Linked DNA regions of Homo sapiens: region 2 is linked to region 1. Evidence: promoter capture Hi-C in 16 types of primary human blood cells and fetal thymus (Javierre and others, 2016). All regions are on one chromosome and are shown on one strand. The core of a region is centred on a gene start or on the middle of the fragment in contact, and the rest is flanking DNA. Distances in the headings are between cores, read along the strand shown.

Evidence for each region. The method cuts DNA at HindIII sites, captures the fragments that hold promoters and counts their contacts. A CHiCAGO score of 5 or more calls a contact.
Region 2: a fragment that was not itself captured here is called in contact with the fragment with the promoter of TAF7 in region 1 in 1 of 17 cell types (naive CD8 T cells); the score reaches 5.1 in naive CD8 T cells.

Annotation. Positions count from the first base shown.
Region 1 is chr5:141,317,941-141,323,717 of GRCh38, reverse strand. TAF7 (TATA-box binding protein associated factor 7) reads left to right here and starts at 2,934. Exons shown (of 1, transcript NM_005642.3): 1 at 2,934-5,228. The coding sequence starts at 3,674. The coding sequence ends at 4,723. RefSeq lists enhancers at 2,406-2,555, 2,566-2,625, 3,206-3,405. The HindIII fragment of the contact is 5,333 bases long and covers 1-3,902 here.
Region 2 is chr5:163,506,066-163,511,842 of GRCh38, reverse strand. All of the region lies in intron 1 of MAT2B (methionine adenosyltransferase 2 non-catalytic beta subunit), which reads right to left. Among named protein-coding and RNA genes, the nearest start is that of MAT2B, 3.3 kb to the right of the region's middle. RefSeq lists an enhancer at 5,685-5,777. The HindIII fragment of the contact is 2,473 bases long and covers 2,458-4,930 here.

The DNA.
Region 1 (5,777 bases), core at 1,685-4,184:
ACTGGGGATTTATCAGTAGACATTAAGATAATGTGATGTGGCAGAGGCCTTAGGCCTTAGTGATAGGCAGAGGACTGCCACATCACATTATCTTTTTTTTTTTTTTTCTTTTTGAGATGGAATTTTGCTCCAGTGTTGCCCAGGCTGGAGTGCAATGGTGCAATCTTGGCTCACTGCAACCTTCGCTTCCCGGGTTCAAGCAATTCTCCTCCCTCAGTCTCCCGAGTAGCTGGGATTACAGGTGCCCGCCGCCAAGCCTGGCTAATTTGTTTTTGTTTTTGTTTTTGTTTTATTTTTGAGAAGGAGTCCCCTCTATTGCCCAGGCTGGAGTGCAGTGGCGCGATCTCGGCTCACTGCAAACTCTGCCTCCTGGGTTCACGCCATTCTCCTGCCTCAGCCTCCCGAGCAGCTGGGACTACAGGTGCCTGCCACCGCACTCGGCTAATTTTTTGTATTTTTAGTAGAGACGGGATTTCACCGTGTTAGCCAGGATGGTCTCAATCTCCTGACCTCGTGATCCACCCGCCTCGGCCTCCCAAAGTGCTGGGATTACAGGCGTAAGCTACGGCGCCTGGCCCTTTTTTTGTATTTTTAGTAGAAATGGGGTTTCACCATGTTGGCCAGGCTGGTCTCGAACTCCTGACCTCAGATGATCCATCCGCCTTGGCCTCCCAAAGTGCTGGTATTACAGGCATGAGCCACTGCACCCAGCAGATTATCTTAATGTCTACTGATAAATCCAATTTAAAAAAATATTTAGGGTCAATATAATTTCCTCCCCTAAAACAGCATATAGAAAATGTGTTAAACTCAAAAGCAGAAAATGTATTTCAGGACTGAAGGAGCTAGATACATTAAGAAAACCTCAGTTAATCCTTTTAACTATGTCTGGCAATATTCCATGTAAAGAAAGGTTTAGAAACTAAAATACACAGTAATTTTGGAAAATGAAAAATTGCATACAATTTATCTCAAGTTACCTTCTATGATAAGAATATTTGAGCATCATAAAACTCATAGGGAAGATGCTGAGTAATATTTGGATTATTTTCATGTATAATGACCTCACATTGTATATGGTTAAACAAAACACAGCCAGGCGAGGTGGCTCAAGCCTGTAACAGAAAAAACTTCATCTTTGAAAAAGAGGAAATAGATCATTCTGGAAATTACAAGTAAGTCAGCTAACATTCTTCAACACATTATAAGCAAAGAGAAATAATTTACCGTTATCTGGAAGGGCATACTTTCTCTTTTAAAATTAACATTAAAAACCAAACTAACGTCAGGTCATTTTAATTTCCTCCCACAACAGTATCTCATTCTAGCTAAACCACATTCACACACACTATTAGTAAACCTCCCCACCTCATAACAATTAGAATTGTCCTTGACTAGAAAGGAAATGTATGTAAAGTGGCTCTATCTCATTTTAAAATGACAAAGAATGTATTTTCTCTCAGAAATCACTACAGGATTTGAGACTATGATCTTTCTAGACAGATAAGTTTTTTCATTCAATTAGCAAATATTTTTTGTGTATCTCCCACATTCTGGTACTAGGCACTGGGACACAATGACCAGGATAGAAGAAGATCACTATCATGGAGCTTTCAATCATACAAGAATAAAGTGAATTTTGGAAATGTTAATTACATCTTAAGAGAATTCTCTTAAATTTAGGGGCAATTGTTAATATTTTAGAGGATAGAAATGAAATATTAATGGCCTTGATGCTCTCCCAGATATTTTAAAAATAAATGGAAATAAATAGAAATAAGTACCAACTGTTACCCAGTTATGTTAAAATACTAAAAATATGTGTTGATGAATACCTGACTATTGATAGAAAAGACAAGCAGAAAACAGCAAAATAGTAGAGGTGGAGTTAAAAAAAATGTCAAAGTAATTTAAAATTACTTGTACATGAGAGACAGGAAACAATACTTCAATTATATCTACTTTAACCAGATGCTCAGTCTATCAGACAATTCTGTCCAAAAGAACACTTCCTTCTCTGTTTACATTTACATCTAAATCAAGCACATAAAAAGGAATCACCCTTGTTTCCCCAGAAGTATTATAGAACACAAGTAAAACCAGAGGCACAATTCCCCTACAGGGAATTATATTTAAAAATACAGACTTTGGGCCATGCGCGCTGGCTCACACCTATAATCCTAGTACTTTGGGAGGCCAAGACAGGCAGATCACCTCAGGTCAGGAGTTCGAGACCAGCCTGGCCAACATGGTGAAACCCCTTCTCTACTAAAAATACAAAACTTAGGTGGGGTAGTGGAACGTGCCTGTAATCCCAACTACTTAAGAGGCTGAAGCAGGAGAATCGCTTGAACCCCAGAGGTGGAGGTTGCAGTCAGCCAATATTGTGCCACTGCACTCTAGCCTGGGTGACAGCCTGAGACTCCATCTCCAAAACAAACAAACAAACATATATATAGAGAGAGACTTATATAGTAAGCTGCATGTCCTCCTCACTCCATTGATTTGGGTACTTTGAAATCCATTGTATAGTAGCTACACATTCTTGTATTGGCACCAGATAGGCTAGACTCTAGGGAACATCCGAGATGTTTCCAGAAGCAAAGACGCTTACTGCAAGGCGTCCCCCATCTCCCGGAATCACCCGGAAGTCTAGAAGCCATCCGGCCCCACAGCGATCCCGTAAAAGTGCTGGCTTAGCGGGGGACGAATCTGTGTCTTTCTTGGAACTTCCAAGCTCTAAATAGTTTGAAACCAACAGCTCTTCCGAAACACTGTCATTTCCATCCCGGAAAAACAAGTTCTCGCGAAAAGATGAGTTTCACGCTGGGCAGCGTAATTGCGCTATTGCGCCTGCGCTAGCTGGGGCTCCGCCCTTCCGCCCGGAGGGGCTGTCACTCACAGCCGCCTCCCGCCCCGCGTCGCGACGTAGCACTTCCGTTTTTGCTGGGTAGGCGACCCGGACGGAGGGCCGGCGAGGTGCGGGGTCTGGTGATGCGAGCTGCGCCTCTCGGCAAGATTTCGCGCTGCCCATCCCGGGCCCTTTCATCAGTAATCGGTAGTGGATCACTCTGCCAAGCGGCAGGAAGAATTAAGGAAACGACAAGGAGACGCTCGGCTCTCTCCCGCTTGGCTCCTTGCGGCCTCCTCTTCCCTTCGCTCCGGCCCGGTGAAACTGAACTTATAATCGTCACTGGATTGTAAGTACCCGAGGCGAAGAGAGCTCGCTGAGCCCTGATTTTTTGAGTGTCTTTGTTCCGGGAGAGTTTGTGAGTTGAAAGTATCTCTGCTGGGCTTTCTGGGCCGAAAACCGTTCCGGGGGAGCCGCCATTTGCTTTCCTGTTCCCTAGCTAGCTAGCTAGCTCTCTCCGCGTTGTCCGGCAGCGGCACCTAGAGGTTGGGACTTGGCATTGCATCTGATTTAATGAACTTAAGTCTGTGAATAAGCCTTTGTGTTAACGACTGGTATTCGGTCACAGCATATTTAGAGAAAAGACTTGGAGCTTAAATAAAAACTAAGGCAAAATAGACGCTTAGCTGCTGATCTACAGAGAACTTCTTGTAATTAAAAGATTTCAATTCATAGCAAACTGGTGTTTTAAACTATTGCAGTAGCTGGAACTTTTTAGTGTAACCAGCATTTATTGGAGAAGTGAATCACAAGGAAATAAAGATGAGTAAAAGCAAAGATGATGCTCCTCACGAACTGGAGAGCCAGTTTATCTTACGTCTGCCTCCAGAATATGCCTCTACTGTGAGAAGGGCAGTACAGTCTGGTCATGTCAACCTCAAGGACAGACTGACAATTGAGTTACATCCTGATGGGCGTCATGGAATCGTCAGAGTGGACCGTGTTCCATTGGCCTCAAAATTAGTAGACCTGCCCTGTGTTATGGAAAGCTTGAAAACCATTGATAAAAAAACTTTTTACAAGACAGCTGATATCTGTCAGATGCTTGTATCCACAGTTGATGGTGATCTCTATCCTCCTGTGGAGGAGCCAGTTGCTAGCACTGATCCTAAAGCAAGCAAGAAAAAGGATAAGGACAAAGAGAAAAAGTTTATCTGGAACCACGGAATTACTCTGCCTCTAAAGAATGTCAGGAAGAGAAGGTTCCGGAAGACAGCAAAGAAGAAATATATTGAATCTCCAGATGTTGAAAAAGAAGTGAAACGATTGCTGAGTACAGATGCTGAAGCTGTTAGTACTCGGTGGGAAATAATTGCCGAAGATGAAACAAAGGAGGCAGAAAATCAAGGCCTGGATATCTCTTCTCCAGGAATGTCTGGTCACAGGCAGGGCCATGACTCATTAGAACATGATGAGCTTCGGGAGATATTCAATGACCTCAGCAGCAGCAGTGAGGATGAAGATGAGACCCAGCATCAAGATGAAGAAGATATAAACATCATTGACACGGAGGAAGATCTGGAGAGACAGCTACAGGACAAGCTAAATGAATCAGATGAACAGCACCAGGAAAATGAAGGAACCAATCAGCTGGTTATGGGAATTCAGAAGCAGATTGACAACATGAAAGGCAAGCTCCAAGAGACCCAGGACAGGGCAAAACGACAAGAGGATCTCATCATGAAAGTGGAAAATCTGGCTCTCAAGAACAGATTTCAGGCTGTACTGGATGAGCTCAAACAAAAGGAAGACCGAGAAAAGGAGCAACTCAGCTCTTTGCAAGAGGAGCTAGAATCACTCCTAGAGAAGTAAAAAGAACTGATATTTAATTTCAGTCTTCAGACTGGTCAGCATTAGAAAATTCTTGGCTTTATTGTACTGGGTATTAAGACCTTGCTCTTCCTAGTCCTTTTAATGCTGTGTGTTCTGTTAAGTTCTTTCATTTGTTTGTAATTTTGTTTTTCAGCAAATTTATATTGTTTTGCTAGGTGTTCATCCTATAAGAAGCAGGATTGTATAGGCAGAAAAATGATTGTAGGAAAGTTGCAGGATTAGCGGAATGTATGGTTCAACCTTAATTATAGCTTCATTGCAGGACTTTACTGTTTCTCCATTTTCTAGAAGCTGCTGTTGCTGCTTTGTGATGACGTGAGATCAATAAGAAGAACCTAGTCTAGAGACAATGATGCTAGTTTGCATATGTTTTCCTATGCAATAATTGTTTTCCCAGTTATTCAAAGCAGCTTTCTATATGTAGAGATGCAAATTATTAAGTTGTTTCCAATACAATAAATAAAAGCATCTGTTTTTCACTTTATAGTGTATCTTGTTCTTTCATGGTTGGTGGGAGTCAGGTCCTCTTGTGAGGTGGTTTTATGGTGGAGTTTAGTGACTAAGCAATTTGATCCCGTTCTGCAGGTAGAGGCAGTAGGGTTTATGAAAAAAAGGAACACAGCAGGGGTAAAGAAATTGGGAATGGTCATGTTTGCATCATATTAAGATTCCAATTCTATTTGATCTACTTGAAAGCTGGGAAACATTAGATACAGAGCTTTCTTAAAGTACCCTAATTTTTGTAGATGAAGGCCTTTGTGCCTTTTTTAAAAAGCGCTAAATCTACCTGCATAAAATGTTGGAAACAAAGCAGTGGTTATCAAGTGCAGTCCAATGAACCATTCCATTGGTTTGGATTAATATTTCTAATTTTCTTCAGTTGAGTTCCTATAATTAATATTCTGAGAACTGAGGTCATTTATCAATGTCATTTCATCAAAATTGCTCATAAAGGAAGTTGGTACCAAATTTCTCATGCTCTAAAGATAATCTAATGCCTCACAACATAAGCTATTTTTGAAAAATCAGTTAC
Region 2 (5,777 bases), core at 2,445-4,944, about 22 Mb before region 1:
TCAGGCTCATGCCTGTAATTCCAACACTTTGGGAATGCGAGGCAGGCAGCTCCGCTGAGCCCAGGAACTTGAGACCAGCCTGGGTAACATAATGAGACCCATCTCAATACAAAAAAACAGTAAAAATATACTTTGTATTTATAAAAATAAATTTTTAAAATAAAAAAAGCAGAAAACACAACTTAAAAATGTAATAAATAAAGTTAGAACAATGATTAATCAAACCATATAAAAAACTGTATCACTTAAGAAAAAGCTTTTGCCAGGCATGGTGGCCCATGCCTTTAATCCCAGCACTTTGCGAGGCCAAGGCAGGTGGATCACTTGAGCCCAGGAGTTCGAGACCAGCCTAGGCAACATGGTGAAAACCCGTCCTTCCAAAAAAAAAAAAAAAAAAAAAAAAGCAAAAATTAGCTGAGCTACAGGTGGTGCATGCCTGTAGTCCTAGCTACTTGGGAGGCTGGGGTGGGAGGATCACGAGCCTGGGAGGCCAAGGCTGTAATAAGCAGAGATCATGACATGCACTCCAGTCTGGGGGACAGAGTGAGACCCTGTTTCAAAAAAAAAATTTTTTTAATTAAAAAAGTTATAATAATCTTACCCAAGGAAAGGAACACAAGATGATATGCAAGGAATTATGTAGATTTATATTTCCTATGTTAACAGAAAATCCTATTTTTATGATTGATAATACCCAAATGAGTTAGTAAACAGCAACTTTTTTTATACTTTTGCTCCAAGTACCTAAATAGTAAATAACAACATTACATTCTTCAGTTTATAAGACTTTACAATTTGTCTTGCTTCTATAGATACGACTGAAGGTGCTCTTTGAGTCTCTAGAGAGAAACGTGTTTTAAGTTTACCTATTTTAAGGCCTGATTAGTATTTGCGTCAAATCTGCCAATATATTTACAAGCTGACATTTCTGGTCTTCAGATTTTAATCCCAAATGTTCTTTCAAGTCTCAATAATTTATCATATTTTGATGGACCCAAGGTAGAGAATTAATCAACATTTCAAAGGAATATACGAGGAGGAAAAAAAACTTGGTCCTTACAACACTTAAATGCTTTCTAAGTTTAACCAAATTGGTAAATGTTCCTTAGTTAACCCAAAATTTACCTACATAGAAGAGTTAAAATTGGCCAGGTGCAGTGGTTCATGCCTGTAATCGCAGCACTTTGGGAGGCCAAGCTGGGCAGATCACCTGAGGTCAGGAGTTCAAGACCAGCCTGGCCAACATGGTGAAACCCCATCTCTTCTAAAAATACAAAAAAATTAGCCAGGCGTGGTTGCAGGTGCCTGTAATCCCAGCTACTCGGGAGGCGAGGCGGGAGAATTGCTTGAACCCAGGAGGCGGAGGTTGCAATGAGCCAAGATGGCACCACTGCACTCCAGCCTGGGTAACAAGAGCAAGACTACATCTCAAAAAAAAAAAAAAAAAAGCTAAAACTAATAAACGCAAAGGATAAGAAAAAATATTTTAAGCTCATCTGTGTTGCTACTGTGAAACAAATAAATTATTACACACAGAAATGAAAAAGAACCACTATTTAGGAAAAAATTTAAATTCTATGTTTCCAAGCATAGTTCCAAAAATGTCCCTTCTTCCCAAGATGGGTAACACCAAGTTTCCAACCAGGATCTTGAATAAAGTCAACTTTTACTATTAAAAACAAACCAGTTATTTTAACTCAAGAGTTGTTATAATCACCTAATTCTGGGCTGTCAAAATCTTTAAATACATATACAATAACCAAAGACCTTTTAAAGCCCTTAGCTCAATTAAATTACTTAGCCGAATACATACATTTTTTTTTAAAAGACACCAAAATCAAGTATTTCTAGCAATCAAAAACGTAAAATGAAAAGACTAACAGGGAAAGATAGTATAAAGGTAAATTCTTAGGATTATTTTTCCTTAGTTCAACCAATTTCAAGACATTTTAAAAGTTGAAAGCAATTTCATTCAGGCTGTGTTGCAAAACTTGGCTCTAAACCAACTGATCTATGAAAACAAGGATTTCAGCCAACAAAATATTTTCTTTGAAATTTGGCAAGAAAACAGCTCTACAAAGATTGAACTGTAAAGAGGAGAAAACATGCCAAGTCTAGTACAGATACAGTCAGAGAAAACAATTTACACAGGATAAATACGGTAAAGATTCCTGAAAAAATACTCTAAAAGAGAGATAATTTGGTTTCTTCTGAGTTCCTCACTTTTTACTTCACTCTACGGAAGCAAAGGAACAGGTAACAGTTCCTAAGGTCAGTGGTTCTCGTGCTTCAGTGTGGATCAGAATCACCTGGAGGGCTTTTAGATCACAAAGGTCTGGGGTGGGGCTTGATAATTTGCATTCCCAACAAGTTCCAACAAGTGATGCTGATCATCGTGATTTGGAGACCGCACTTAGAGGACCAGTGTACTCTCGAACTCCAGGAAAGTTCAAAGCTTTCATAACAATCCGTTTCTCTTACACAAGGAAAACAAAAAGTGCCATCTACCTTTCTCAAAATGACAACAGTATCTTTCCCCCTTAAAAAAGAAAACTTGAAATAGAAGCCAAAGCATTATACAATCCACAAAAGTTACTAAACAATGAATTAAGATCTGTGTACTTCACTGACTCTGTGAAGTACAGTTTCATTTTAACATCTGTTAAATGAATTTAAAAAAAATCTTATGAATCGTCACAGTTTTGCAGTAGTTTTTGCTAACTTAATGCAACTTAAGAGCCCAGATGATCTTCTTTTAATTAAGAGCTTCTTGGAGTTGATGCAGTATTAAGTATAGAGAAGAACAAGGCTCTTTAGGGAATATAATACCTTAACGTAAAAAAGGAAGTGGAGTTGTATGAGAAAATGCAACTTTATATCCTTATACCCCTGGGTTACTATGTAAGGCCTCCAGTACGCCCGGCCTATAACATGTTAATTTTCAAATAAAATGTTGTGCAGTATCATTTCCATTTCAGTAAATGCTTGCACTTCAGATCGTCACTCTTAATAAAAATCTTGAGCACTGACACCTGACTGCTGGGTACTGTACACTGTTTCATATTTTTTTCTAGGTAATTTTAGGTAATCTAAGCTACTCGGGAGGCTGAGGCAGGAGAATCGCTCGAACCCAGGAGGCGGAGGTCGTAGTGAGCCGAGATCGCACAACTGCACTCCAGCCTGGGGGACACGAGCTAGACTTCATCTCAAAAAAACAAACAAACAAAAAAACCAAAAAAAAGAAAACTAACGTGTTATATAAGTATACAATCATAGCTGTTTTTGTTTTTTTAATAGCAGTTTGAGGCCGGGTGCCAGGGCTCACGCCTGTAATCCCAGCACTTTGGGAGGCCAAGGTGGACCAACCACTTGAGGTCAGGGGTTCAAAACCAGCCTGGCCAACATGGTGAAACGCTGTCTCTACCAAAAATAGAAAAACTAGTCGGGCATGGTGGTGGGCGCCTATAATCTCAGCTACTTGGGAGGCTGAGGCAGGAGAATCGCTTGAACCCTGGAGGCAGAGGTTGCAGTGAGCAGAGATTGAGCCACTGCACTTCAGACGGGGTGAAAGAGCAAGAGGAAAAAAAAGAAAACAAAAAAACCCAGCAGCTTGTTAGAAGAGATATTATTTCCAAAGAGAGTAACAAGAAGTCCAGTGTTAAATGTTTTGTCTATAGTAAAAGAGAAAAAGCTGGAACCAGAACCTGAGTCTTGCTTCTCTGGTCAAGTCAAATACACTGCATTTTGTCTCAATCCTGTGAACTAATATTTGGTTTCATGAATGATTAAAGTTTTATCTGTTCTGCCACAAATTGGTGTTTAGAAGTTATTCTATCTCTATTGATCTAATTCCTCATTGGTAAATGGGGAAGGCATTTAGACAAAATGACTAAGGCTCTTTCAGCTTTAAAGTTCTATATTTCTAACATTTTCCATATTATCCCTACCACGAGGAGTCCGAATAGTTTCGTTTACTTAAATAAGGTAACTTTTCCTCTGAATATGCATTACTCCGAAATTTAAAATATGCCAAACAAATATCTCTGTTTTTGAGCTTCTATATAAGCAATACTCTGCCTTTTACACTGTTTTGTTGAGGCTTTTTGGTTCGTTCTTTAGAAAAAGAAATATCCCTCTAAAAACTACTTTGGACCTGCACTCCATAAATTATTTTAGTTGTGCACAAGGAAGAAATGTCTAAACACTTTAAGAAAGTCAGAATGAAAGAATAAAATGCTATCTAGTTCACTCAAGGCACAATAAAGAGTTGATAATACTTTGCCTGAAGTCTACTTTTTCTCAATTTTTATTATATGGGGGAAAGTAGATCTAATATCAGTTTAAGTTACTCTAAACGTATCTGCCTCTTATTGTCTAAACTCTGAAGTACGGAATTCAATCACTCCAAGGGACCAGATTTATGGACACCAAAAAAACATTTCTTGAAAAATTAAGTACATATAAATAAATATTCTTATTATCGTATCTAATCGAATGATACCAAATTGTATAGGTAATGGGAGATACATGGCTCCTTCCAAATGGTCCAACACAGTACTCTGGGACAGTGATTTCTACTTTAGCACACCTGCATTAATGTCTACTAAAAATGTTCTAGAAAAGTAAAGAATGGAATACTATTAGTATGTGGTTTTCCCAAATTTCAGTGGTAAATACCTTGTCGTTTTTGGAAACTTTAAAACTTGGCACAGTTCCATGTTTAATTTTTTAATTCCCCAGAAACAGACCCTTAAGGTAAACATTACTGGGCTTTACTTTTTAAGATTCTCTGACTACTTAGGTGGGATTGGTCTAACTTCTACTGCGACGCTACTGTGCTCCACAGACAGTATTACTAACAACAACCACTCCAGGATGCTTCTCTAACGTTAACTATGAGACAGTTCTCGTTCTCATGAGTCAGTAAGCTTTAATTCTACAGGTTTTGAGAGCAGTAAGTCTGTGCCAAGCTCTTCGTTGTTTCATTTTTAATGAAGGAAAACACGAAAAGCTATTTTCATTTTTATACTGAACTTCTTTTTGTGAAAGTAGATTAAGCTTTATATGCACACGTACACATACAAATGCATACATATAAATGTAAACGTATGTAACATGCACTCAGCACGGTCTGGAGGACCTAGGAACATAGAGGTTTAATAGACCATTTATCCTAACTTTACCCTCAAAGAACCAAAGTGATTTGAAAACCCTAAGTAAATTTGGAAGCATGAAAACTTTGCAATAACAGAAACAGCCATCTCCTATATTCTCTACTCTCTCCAAAAGACATGGTCTGGGCATTAGTAGTGTTCTTATCCCCAGGGTTGGATATGTTCTGTGGACAGATTAATGCTGGAGGCCCTTAAGTGGAATGGAGCAGGATGGGACGGGGGCGAGGGGGGCACCAGAGATGGATCTTCCAATCATCACCATAATCTTCCTTCAGGGAAACTCCGTAGTGGTTCAAAGCCCAAGACAGTCACACAAACCTGTATCTGAATTCCAGGCTCCAACCTTACGGAATGAACCTGGGCCAATGTCTCACCCTCTATGCCCGTTTTCTCGTCTACAAAATGAGGCAATAACAAGTATCTCACAGTGGAGGATTAAAGTAATGCCCGTCAAGTGCATAACATAGTGCTGAGAACTTAAGAGTTCAATAAGTTGTCATCTCCAGCACTGTTATTTGTGAGAAGTCACCTTTTCCTGTTCTTTCTCAAACCTACGAACTTGTAAGATCGAGAAATACGAACCAAAGATGAATAAACGGGGAA